Regions from separate parts of the Homo sapiens genome. Here regions 2 and 3 are each linked to region 1. Evidence: promoter capture Hi-C in human tissues and cell types (Jung and others, 2019). All regions are on one chromosome and are shown on one strand. The core of a region is centred on a gene start or on the middle of the fragment in contact, and the rest is flanking DNA. Distances in the headings are between cores, read along the strand shown.

Region 1 (2,817 bases), core at 99-2,598:
AAAAGGTGTCTAAATGGGAGTCAATAAATTGACTGACCTCAATTTCCAAGCTCAGCTATTCCCAGCAGTGCCACTTATCAAAGATCTGGGAATCATCTTTCAAGATGTTTTAAGACATCTTTTCTCCAAAAAATCCAGTCTGATTAACTTCTACATTCTTGGTAAGTTTAGCCTCTATACTAGAGTCTATAAGACTTGATGCCAAATAGACTCACTTTTGGTATATCCAAAGGAAGCTAGTAGATTGAAGTGATGAAACTAAGACTGAAAGATTTTCTGCCTCAGTGACAAGTTACGTGAGTAATTCTATGGTGGTTCTATTACCCCACAATGAGTAGACATACAGCGTACCAATTTCTACATATTACACATGTATTGCACAAAAGCGGCATATCCAGATGCCATAGAAAGTGAAAACAAGAGTTCACACAGAAACAGTTGGGACACTGAGCCCCACCATTTACAAGCCCTTGGGCAAGTTAAGTAATTCTTTGGAGCCACAGTTTACCATCTTACAAAATGAGTACTGCCATATTTACATCCTAATTCATTCAATAAATATTTATTGAGTAACTACTAAGTGTCAAGCAATGTACTAGGTGCGGTGGATACATAAAACAGTGAGCAAAACTAACAAGAGTCCTCACCTTAACGGGTCTTATATTCCACTAGAATTGAATGATAGGCTAGAAAGTATAAGCAATTTGAAAGCCCAAAGCAATAAATGAGGTGCCACTGTTACCTCCATAAGATGACGTGCAAACTAAACAGCCAATGGATAAAAAAGTTTCAAACGGTAATTAGCCTTGTCACTAATCAAATGCTCAACAATAACTGCGAGGTGCGGGGGTAGTGGGGGTGCGGAAGGAAAGCGAGGTACAATGATCTCTCCTCTCAATGAGCAGGCAGCAGAATCCAAATCCAGTCTTCAGAAGGAATTCCTTACTCCGTGCTCTTGTTTGCTACAACCTGAGTTTCCCTCTGCAGCCCCCCACTCCCCCGCTAATCTTCATTTTTACTCTCTCCGTCACTCCAACCAGTCTCTTACTCTACCTTGTTCTACCTAAACTCCTCACCCCAGAGCTGGTCTCCCAACCCGGTCTCCTTCCCGCCCCCGCCCTTTTCCTCTCAACAATCTCATTCCAACCTCTTCTCCCACCAAACCAGGTACTCCTTTCACACTCCTTCCCGCTGAACCCTCCCGCTTCGGTCCTCCCCTTGGACTGAGTCCCCGGCCACAGTGGCGCGGACTGGAATTACCCTCTGTGGGCCCGGGGCCACTACTCACCTCACAAACTTCAGCCCCTGAGACGGAGCCCGAACGTTACACCGGAACCGGAAACCTTCTGACCGCCCTACGGCGTGCCGTCGCTACCGCCACCGCCGCCGCCACGCCGCTGTCTCCCAACACGTGACCAAGGAGGGCCGGGCCGCCAATTCGCGCAGCCGTATTTGCCACTTTCTTGGAGGCTGAACGCATGCGTCGCAGAACCGAAAAGTTTCCCTGAGCAATTTCCTTGCTTTCTATTTCCCAGGCTAAACCTATTAGCTAGATTTCTGCCAAGGTTTTTTTTTTAGCTTTTTTTTTGAGACGGAGTCTCGCTCTGTCGCCCAGGTTGGAGTGCAGTGACGCGATCTCGGCTCACTGCGAGCTCCGCCTCCCGGGTTCACGCCATTCTCCTGCCTCAGCCTCCCGAGTAGCTGGGACTACAGGCGCCCGCCACCACGCCCGGCTGATTTTTTGTATTTTTAGTAGAGCCGGGGTTTCACCGTGTTAGCCAGGATGGTCTCGATCTCCTGGCCTCGTGATCCGCCCGCCTCAGCCTTCCAAAGTGCTGGGATTACAGGCGTGAGCCACCGCGCCCGGCCGATTTCTGCCAAGTTAATGTCTTTAACTTCCTGAAGCGGAAATTGGGCTACTTGCTGTTTTCCTCATATGGAGAATAAGTGCGCAAAAGTAAACTTAGGCTAGAATGAAGAGCGAGGCTTCTGCGTTTGTGTTCAAACACAGCCTTTCTGGTAGAAAGTAAACCCTTTCTCCCTAATTTAACAGTGGTGTCAGGCCGGGCGCCGTGGCTCACGCCTGTAATCCCAGCACTTTGGGCTCAATAAATGACAAGTGAGACCTACCAGTATTGTTTTCTCCATTCTATCAATAGGTCTATATATTAACTTCTCTCCAAAATGAGGCTCTAACCTACTGACCCTTTATTTTTTATTTTTATTTTTTATTTTTTGAGACGGAGTCTCGCTCTGTCGTCAGGCTGGAGTGCATTCGGCTCACTGAAACTTCCGCCTCCCGAGTAGATGGGACTACAGGCGCGCGACCACCACGTCCAGCTAACTTTTGTATTTTTAGTAGAGACGGGGTTTCACCATGTTGGCCAGGATGGTCTCCATCTCTTGACCGCGTGATCCGCCCACCTCGGCCTCCCAAAGTGCTGGGATTACAGGGTTGAACCACCGCGCCCGGCCCCTACTGACTCTTTAAATCGATGATTCATAACAACATGTGTGTGGACAAAGATAGTTTGGAAAAAGATTGTCCAGTATTATGACACAATTTCTTATATGAGAAATGGAAAAAATTCCATTATTTTTATATTATAAACTATCCAAACTAAAGTTCCAAAATGTCTTCTTGGTGGTAGGCTGACTAGAAGATGCAGTTGTTCTTCAGGGAGGTTATTCACATTCCCCAGATAGTAGGAGATTTTTGTATCTAAAGATAACAATGTACATACCAAGCCCCACCTTCCCTGATGGGGCAGCACGACATAACAGGATAAAGCCTGGCTCTGAAGGAACAAGTTGGGG
Region 2 (2,869 bases), core at 362-2,861, 620 kb before region 1:
TGTGGTAAAGAAAGAGTAAGGGTTTCAGTCCACTGGGGACTAAGAAGACAAAAGCTAATTGTGGTATCTGGTCTATGGCACGAACAGGGCAGGTGCTGTGCTCCCAGCCTCTACCCCTTTACAGTCCTCTGTCCAGGTACCTGAGCTTGTTTTTGACGTTTGGTGTCTCAGCTACAATGCCAGCATAGAGCCAGACCTGATTCCCATCTTTGTATTTGGCGACCACCCGACTGCCCACATACAGCTTGTCAGCAGGAGGGTGGTAATCATAGGCAATATGGTTCCCCGACAGTAGACTCTTTCCTTTGTTGTCAAATTTCACCTTGTATTTCTTCCCTGGCCCTGAGTAAAAGGGAAAGATAAATCTTTTTAAACACTGCCAGTTTCTGTATAAATCCAGGCTGCTATGTGAGAGACAAATGGGAAGGTTATGGGGAAAAGAAACAATCAGCAGTGGAGGGTGCAGGTTGCCTTTCAGGAGTGGTTCCTCCAAGTTTGCACATACCAACTGTCTGGATGGCAATAAGGGTGCCTTTGTGCCAAGTCTTAGTTCTCTTCTTGCCCAGAATTCGCATGCTGACTATCAGGTCACCATCTTTGCTTAGTTCTCCAGACATCTGACTCAAGGTTCCTATAGAAGAAGCAAAGTTATTCTCAAGAGTTATGACATAGATTCGGTAGAGAACGGGAAGGTAAAGAGGGTAGTATGGTAATTAGGGAAAGTGGGGTAATTTTTTTTTTTTTTTTGAGATGGAGTCTCACTCTGTCACCAGGCTGGAGTGCAGTGGTGCGATCTTGGCTCACTGGAACCTCCGCCTCCCTGGGTTCCAGCGATTCTCCTGCCTCAGCCTCCCGAGTAGCTGGGACTACAGGCACGCAAGGTGGCACCACTACACCCAGCTAATTTTTATATTTTTAGTAGAGACGGGGTTTCACCATGTTAGCCAGGATGGTCTCTATCTTTTGACCTCATGATCCGCCTGCCTCGGTCTCCCAAAGTGCTGGGATTATAGGCATGAGCCACTGTGCCCGGCCAATTTTTTTTTTTTTTTTTGAGATGGAGTCTCGTTCTGTTGCCCAGGCTGGAGTGCAGTGGCATGATCTCGGCTCACTGCAACCTTCACCTTCCGGGTTCAAGCGATTCTCCTGCCTCGGGCTCCTGAGTAGCTGAGATTACAGGCGTGCGCCACCACGCCTGGCTAATTTTTGTATTTTTAATAGAGACAGAGTTTCACCATGTTGGTCAGGCTGGTGTCGAACTCCTGACCTTGTGATCCGCCCACCTCGGCCTCCCAAAGTGCTGGGATTACAGGCGTGAGCCACCGTGCCTGGCCCATCTGGAGAATTTTTAAACATTTTTTTTTGTAGAGATGGGGTTTCACTATGTTGCCGAGGCTGGTCTTTAATGCTGGGCCTCAAGTGATCCTCCTGCCTCAGCCTCCCAAAGCTGCTAGAATTACAGATATGAGCCACCACACCTGGCCTCAAACCTTTTTGTAACAAGAGTCTGAGTGATTCTCTTCTCCCTAATCTCCACCTGGAAGCAGTCATGAGGATGGAAACAGCCTAAATGTAGGACGCTAAAGAGGTATTGAGATAAAACCATCACAGACTGGAAAAATCACCATCAATGTAACTGGGATTTCATAACTACTAAGGATACTGAGTCTGGCATGTCACAAACAATTAGCAGACATAAGACTTAAGACAAAATCTCTGTAAGAATTCACCTCCCATCTGTACCCAGGTATTTCTTGACCCTAACCTTTATGCAGATCCTGGGAACTGCTCTTCTTGTTGACAGCATCCATGAACTTCTGAACATCTTGAGCTGACTTTCTTAAGGCAGCCATAGCTTCACGGAGCTGTAGAAAAGGGGATGAGGAAAACAAGTTTTGAAACAGTAGCATGGGTTACAAATAACTTCAGAATAAGAAACAACTTGTATTTCACAAAACAAAATGGAGTGAGTTATGTTTGGAAGCTTATGGTTACTTTATCTGGCAAAGCTGCCCTTACTCTTTTTTTTTGATATGGAGTTTAGCTATTGTTGCCCAGGCTGGAGTGCAATGGCACAATCTCGGCTCACCATAACCTCCACTTCCTGGGTTCAAGCGATTCTCCTGCCTCAGCCTCCGGAGTAGCTGGAATTACAAGCATGCGCCACCATGCCCAGCTAATTTTTTTTTTTTTTTTGAGATGGAGTCTGGCTCTGTTGCCCAGCCTGGAGTGCAATGGCATGATTTAGGTTCACCGCAACCTCTGCCTCTCGGGTTCAAGCGATTCACCTGTCTCAACCTCCAAAGCAGCTGGGACTACAGGCACGTGCCACCATGCCCAGCTAATTTTTGTATTTTTAGTAGAGACAGGGTTTCACTATGTTAGCCAGGCTGGTCTCAAACTCCTGACCTCGTGTTCCACCCGCCTCAGCCTCCCAAAGTCCTGGGATTACAGGCGTGAGCCACTGTGCCCAGCCTGATTTTGTGTTTTTAGTAGAGATGGGGTTTCTCCATGGTTAGGCTGCTCTTGAACTGCCGACCTAAGGTGATCCACCTGCCTCAGCCTCCCAAAGTGCTGGGATTACAGGCGTAAGCCACCACGCCTAGCCTCTTTTTTTTTTTTTTCTGAGACAGAGTCTTGCTCTGTCCCCCAGGCTAGAGTGCGGTGGTGCGATCTCAGCTCATTGCAACCTCTGCCTCCTGGGTTCCACTGATTCTCCTGTCTCAGCCTCCCAAGCAGCTGGGATTACAGGCATGCACCACCATGCCCAGCTAATTTTTATATTTTTTTAGTAGAGATGGGGTTTCGCCATTTTGGCCAGGCTGGTCTTGAACTCCTGACCTCAGGTGATCCACCCACCTGAAACTCC
Region 3 (2,982 bases), core at 426-2,925, 660 kb before region 1:
AGATGAGGGCTGTGCTGTGAGCAGGGTCTTTACATAGTGGGATGTTCCTACTCCTTGGAGGAGGGAAGGCGCTCCAGGAGAGGGCTGGGAAGGAAAGGAGCAGGGGCTATATCACCCCCACTTCCATTTTATCTCAAAAGAAGTTGCAAATAAAATGTCAAAACAGCATGCAAATCTGACCCAGACCAAGGCAAAGGTGGCCTGGTGTGGTGGTTAAAAAAAAATACGACTTGGGGGGATCGGCTGACCTAGATGAGAATACCACCTCCGTCATGAGCTGAGTGACCTTGGGCAAGCCTCTTAATCTCCCTGAGCCCCAGTTTCCTCATCTGGAAAATGGAAATAATAAGCCTTGCCTCACAGGGGTGTTGTGAGAATGGGTTTGACACACCTACTGTGGCGCCTGACATACAAGAATGAAGGCATTCCACAAACATTTCTCCAACATCACTAGTTCCTCCTTCCTGGCTCCTCCTTGGTCTACAGATTGGCTCTAAAAGGCAGTCTCAAGTGCCGGGGGAAAGGGGCTCACCTTGGCCAGTAATGGCCCTCAGTAGCCTCTGCGCATCCTTGTCCACGCTGAAGTTCAAGAAGGTCCTGAGGGTGCCCAGGGTCCCCCACGCTGCAGTCTGTGGGAGCACAGGGTAGTTGGCAAGGGCCAGGGCCAGGCTGCCTACACCTCCTCAGCATAACCTCAGGGCCTGTCCTCCACTTTCCTGCCTCCCATCCTCTCACAGCCCGAGCTGAGATACTAAAAGTGATCTCTAAAATCCCAACAGCCCCTACCTTGCTGGCCAGGCCCAGGTGGCTGAGGATCTCCTGGGTGAGGGACGGTGCCATCTTCCCGCCAGTCACAGACATGGTGCTACTGGTTGCCCTGGGGAAGGAAACAGGAGCCCACAGAGCTGAATTTCCTGGCCCTTCAGGGACTCCTTATGACCCCCCCGAGACCCTGGACCCTGGGTTCCAGTCACCTGTTCCTTTCCTTGCTGCAGAAAAAAAGATCAACCTGCTTAGGCTTGGAGCCAGAAATGGAGCTGAAATGGTGAGGTAAGAGGGGAGCCCCCACCTTCCCCACCTCTCCCCACTCCTTTAGGAAGTGGGGATTGATGCGGAATGCTCCTGGACCAGGCGCCAACCCTCCCTGATGCCAGGGTCAGCACCAAAGCTCCTCAGGCCTTGGTCCGCGGTAGATGCCTCCCTTCTGAGGTCTATGGCCCTCCTTCCTGGGCCTGGCTGGGGTCTCCTGGGCAGTGCAGGGGAGCTGAGGTGAGGTGGCAGGATTAACCACGCAGAGTGGAAGACAACTCGAAATAGCATCTTCCCCCACCGGCAGCCCCAGCTGACAAGCAACCCTCAATTCCTGCCTGTACAGCTGCCTACCTGCTCAGCAGCACAGGAGCACAGGCCGGAATCTCTAGGTCAGCAGGTGCAATCTCTTAGCTGATGTGAGCAAGAGTTCTTGCAAGTACGTGGATGCCTGGACAGAAAGGAGGCACTCTCATGTTGGAAAAGGAAAACTCATTTTTCCCTCCCCCAAGCAATCAACAAGCCCTCCTGGCATGGGGCCGTGGGCCCAGTACTTACTCAGAGGTGCCAGAGGTGAGGTGGGTGTCGTTGTTGTGGCCTGGTAGCTTGCCTGTGTGAGCACTGCCTCCGGTGTGGCCTGGTAGAGGAAAGTGGGGGTGTGTGCAGCCTAGGCTGAACAGCCAGTCAGATGACCTCTCTTAGGGACGAACCCAGCAGTTGTCTGACTCTGGCCCCTCCCAGACGTGGGAGAGGACCGGGCTGTACAGAGTCCCACATGCAGACACCTTCCTGCCCAGCATCTCTTCTCCCAGGAACTGGGCCTCAATCCATGTGAGTGAACTCCACTCAGCCTCTCAGCGGCTCAGCCTCAAACACAGGAGGCTTTTATGCACTGCCTTCCCTGTGGGTCCAGGTGGGACCACAGAGACCTAGTCTCAAAGTCCAGCTTCTGACCTGGCTCTGCCCCAGCTTCTGACCTGGCTCTGCCTCTGGCTCCAGCTCCCTGGGGGGCAGGTCAGACAGGCTGCAGGCTGATTTCAAGGCTGATAGGGAAAAACCTGTTGGGGCACATACCAGCAGGGCACCCCAGCCTGCACCCCAGAGGGGGTCCCAGCCCAGAAACTCCCTTGACTGCTGCCTTACTAGAGCCAGCTGACCTAGGTGGAGAGTGCCCAGGGATTGTGTATATCTGTGGAGAAGGAAGGGCACAAGTATTTGGGAGTGGAAGTTGATGAACAGAGTCAAGAGAGAAAAATGCAAAGGGTGTTACCTTCAGAGGGAAGCTCTATGCTCCCAAAAGGCAACAGGGAGATGGGGGAGGCTCCCTTGCCTGGTTTCTTAGATTGCTTCTGTTGCCTTTTGGCAGCCTGGGCCCTGTGGCTGTTTTAGCTGCAGGTGATGCAACCCCAGCAGCTGGACTTGAGGCTGTCTCTGCACAGAGCAGCAGGTGAACAGCCCTGTGGAGCCCCCGCCCCGCCATGCAGCAACTGCTCCAGCCTCACAGCTGGCTCCCTCAGGTCTAAACACAGCCTCTTTCCTGCCTCCCTGGAGAGCCTGGGTAGGGGCGGGGCACAGAAGCTACAGCCCTGCCTCCACTCACTCCTCTGCCTCTCTCCCAACTCAGGAAGGCCTTCACTGGCATTCCTACATCCCTGGAGGAGGGACCTGCAGTGGCTCCACCACACTGAGTAGACCATGCCGGAGGACACGCCATGAAAGGATATTTCTGTGGCGGTAATCACTGCTCCTCACTTTTCTCTCCTGTTAAAAGGAAAACATGCACCTGTGTCAGAACTGGAGAATGAGGGTTCAATATCCAGCTCTGCCACCTATGTTCTGTAAGCTTCGCTAGTCCTTTCAGCTCTCTAAATGGGAGGATTGAGAGAGACGGAGGCTGTGGGACATGCTGGGGCCTCCGAGGACAGGTTTCCTGGGATGATTAAATGAAGTAAT

Evidence for each region. The method cuts DNA at HindIII sites, captures the fragments that hold promoters and counts their contacts. A contact is called where the count stands out against the background at its distance.
Region 2: a contact is called between a fragment that was not itself captured here and the fragment with the promoter of PRPF3 in region 1, in 1 of the 25 tissues and cell types used here (aorta).
Region 3: a contact is called between the fragment with the promoter of ANXA9 here and the fragment with the promoter of PRPF3 in region 1, in 2 of the 25 tissues and cell types used here (liver and lymphoblastoid cells).

Annotation. Positions count from the first base shown.
Region 1 is chr1:150,320,064-150,322,880 of GRCh38, reverse strand. It overlaps PRPF3 (pre-mRNA processing factor 3), which reads right to left and starts at 1,348. Exons shown (of 16, transcript NM_004698.4): 1 at 1,289-1,348. RefSeq lists enhancers at 1,250-1,299, 1,490-1,539, 1,669-2,234. The HindIII fragment of the contact is 24,557 bases long and covers 1-2,817 here.
Region 2 is chr1:150,940,325-150,943,193 of GRCh38, reverse strand. SETDB1 (SET domain bifurcated histone lysine methyltransferase 1) reads right to left here. Exons shown (of 22, transcript NM_001366418.1): 5 at 1,766-1,865; 6 at 506-631; 7 at 141-342. Among named protein-coding and RNA genes, the nearest start is that of SETDB1, 15 kb to the right of the region's middle. RefSeq lists a cis regulatory region at 2,528 and an enhancer at 2,456-2,600. The HindIII fragment of the contact is 7,414 bases long and covers 1-2,869 here.
Region 3 is chr1:150,980,985-150,983,966 of GRCh38, reverse strand. It overlaps ANXA9 (annexin A9), which reads right to left and starts at 1,675. Exons shown (of 14, transcript NM_003568.3): 1 at 1,588-1,675; 2 at 1,384-1,480; 3 at 787-877; 4 at 533-629. The coding sequence starts at 861. It overlaps LOC105371438 (a long non-coding RNA gene), which reads left to right and starts at 2,462. Exons shown (of 3, transcript XR_922135.3): 1 at 2,462-2,546; 2 at 2,654-2,763. RefSeq lists an enhancer at 290-1,151. The HindIII fragment of the contact is 19,915 bases long and covers 1-2,982 here.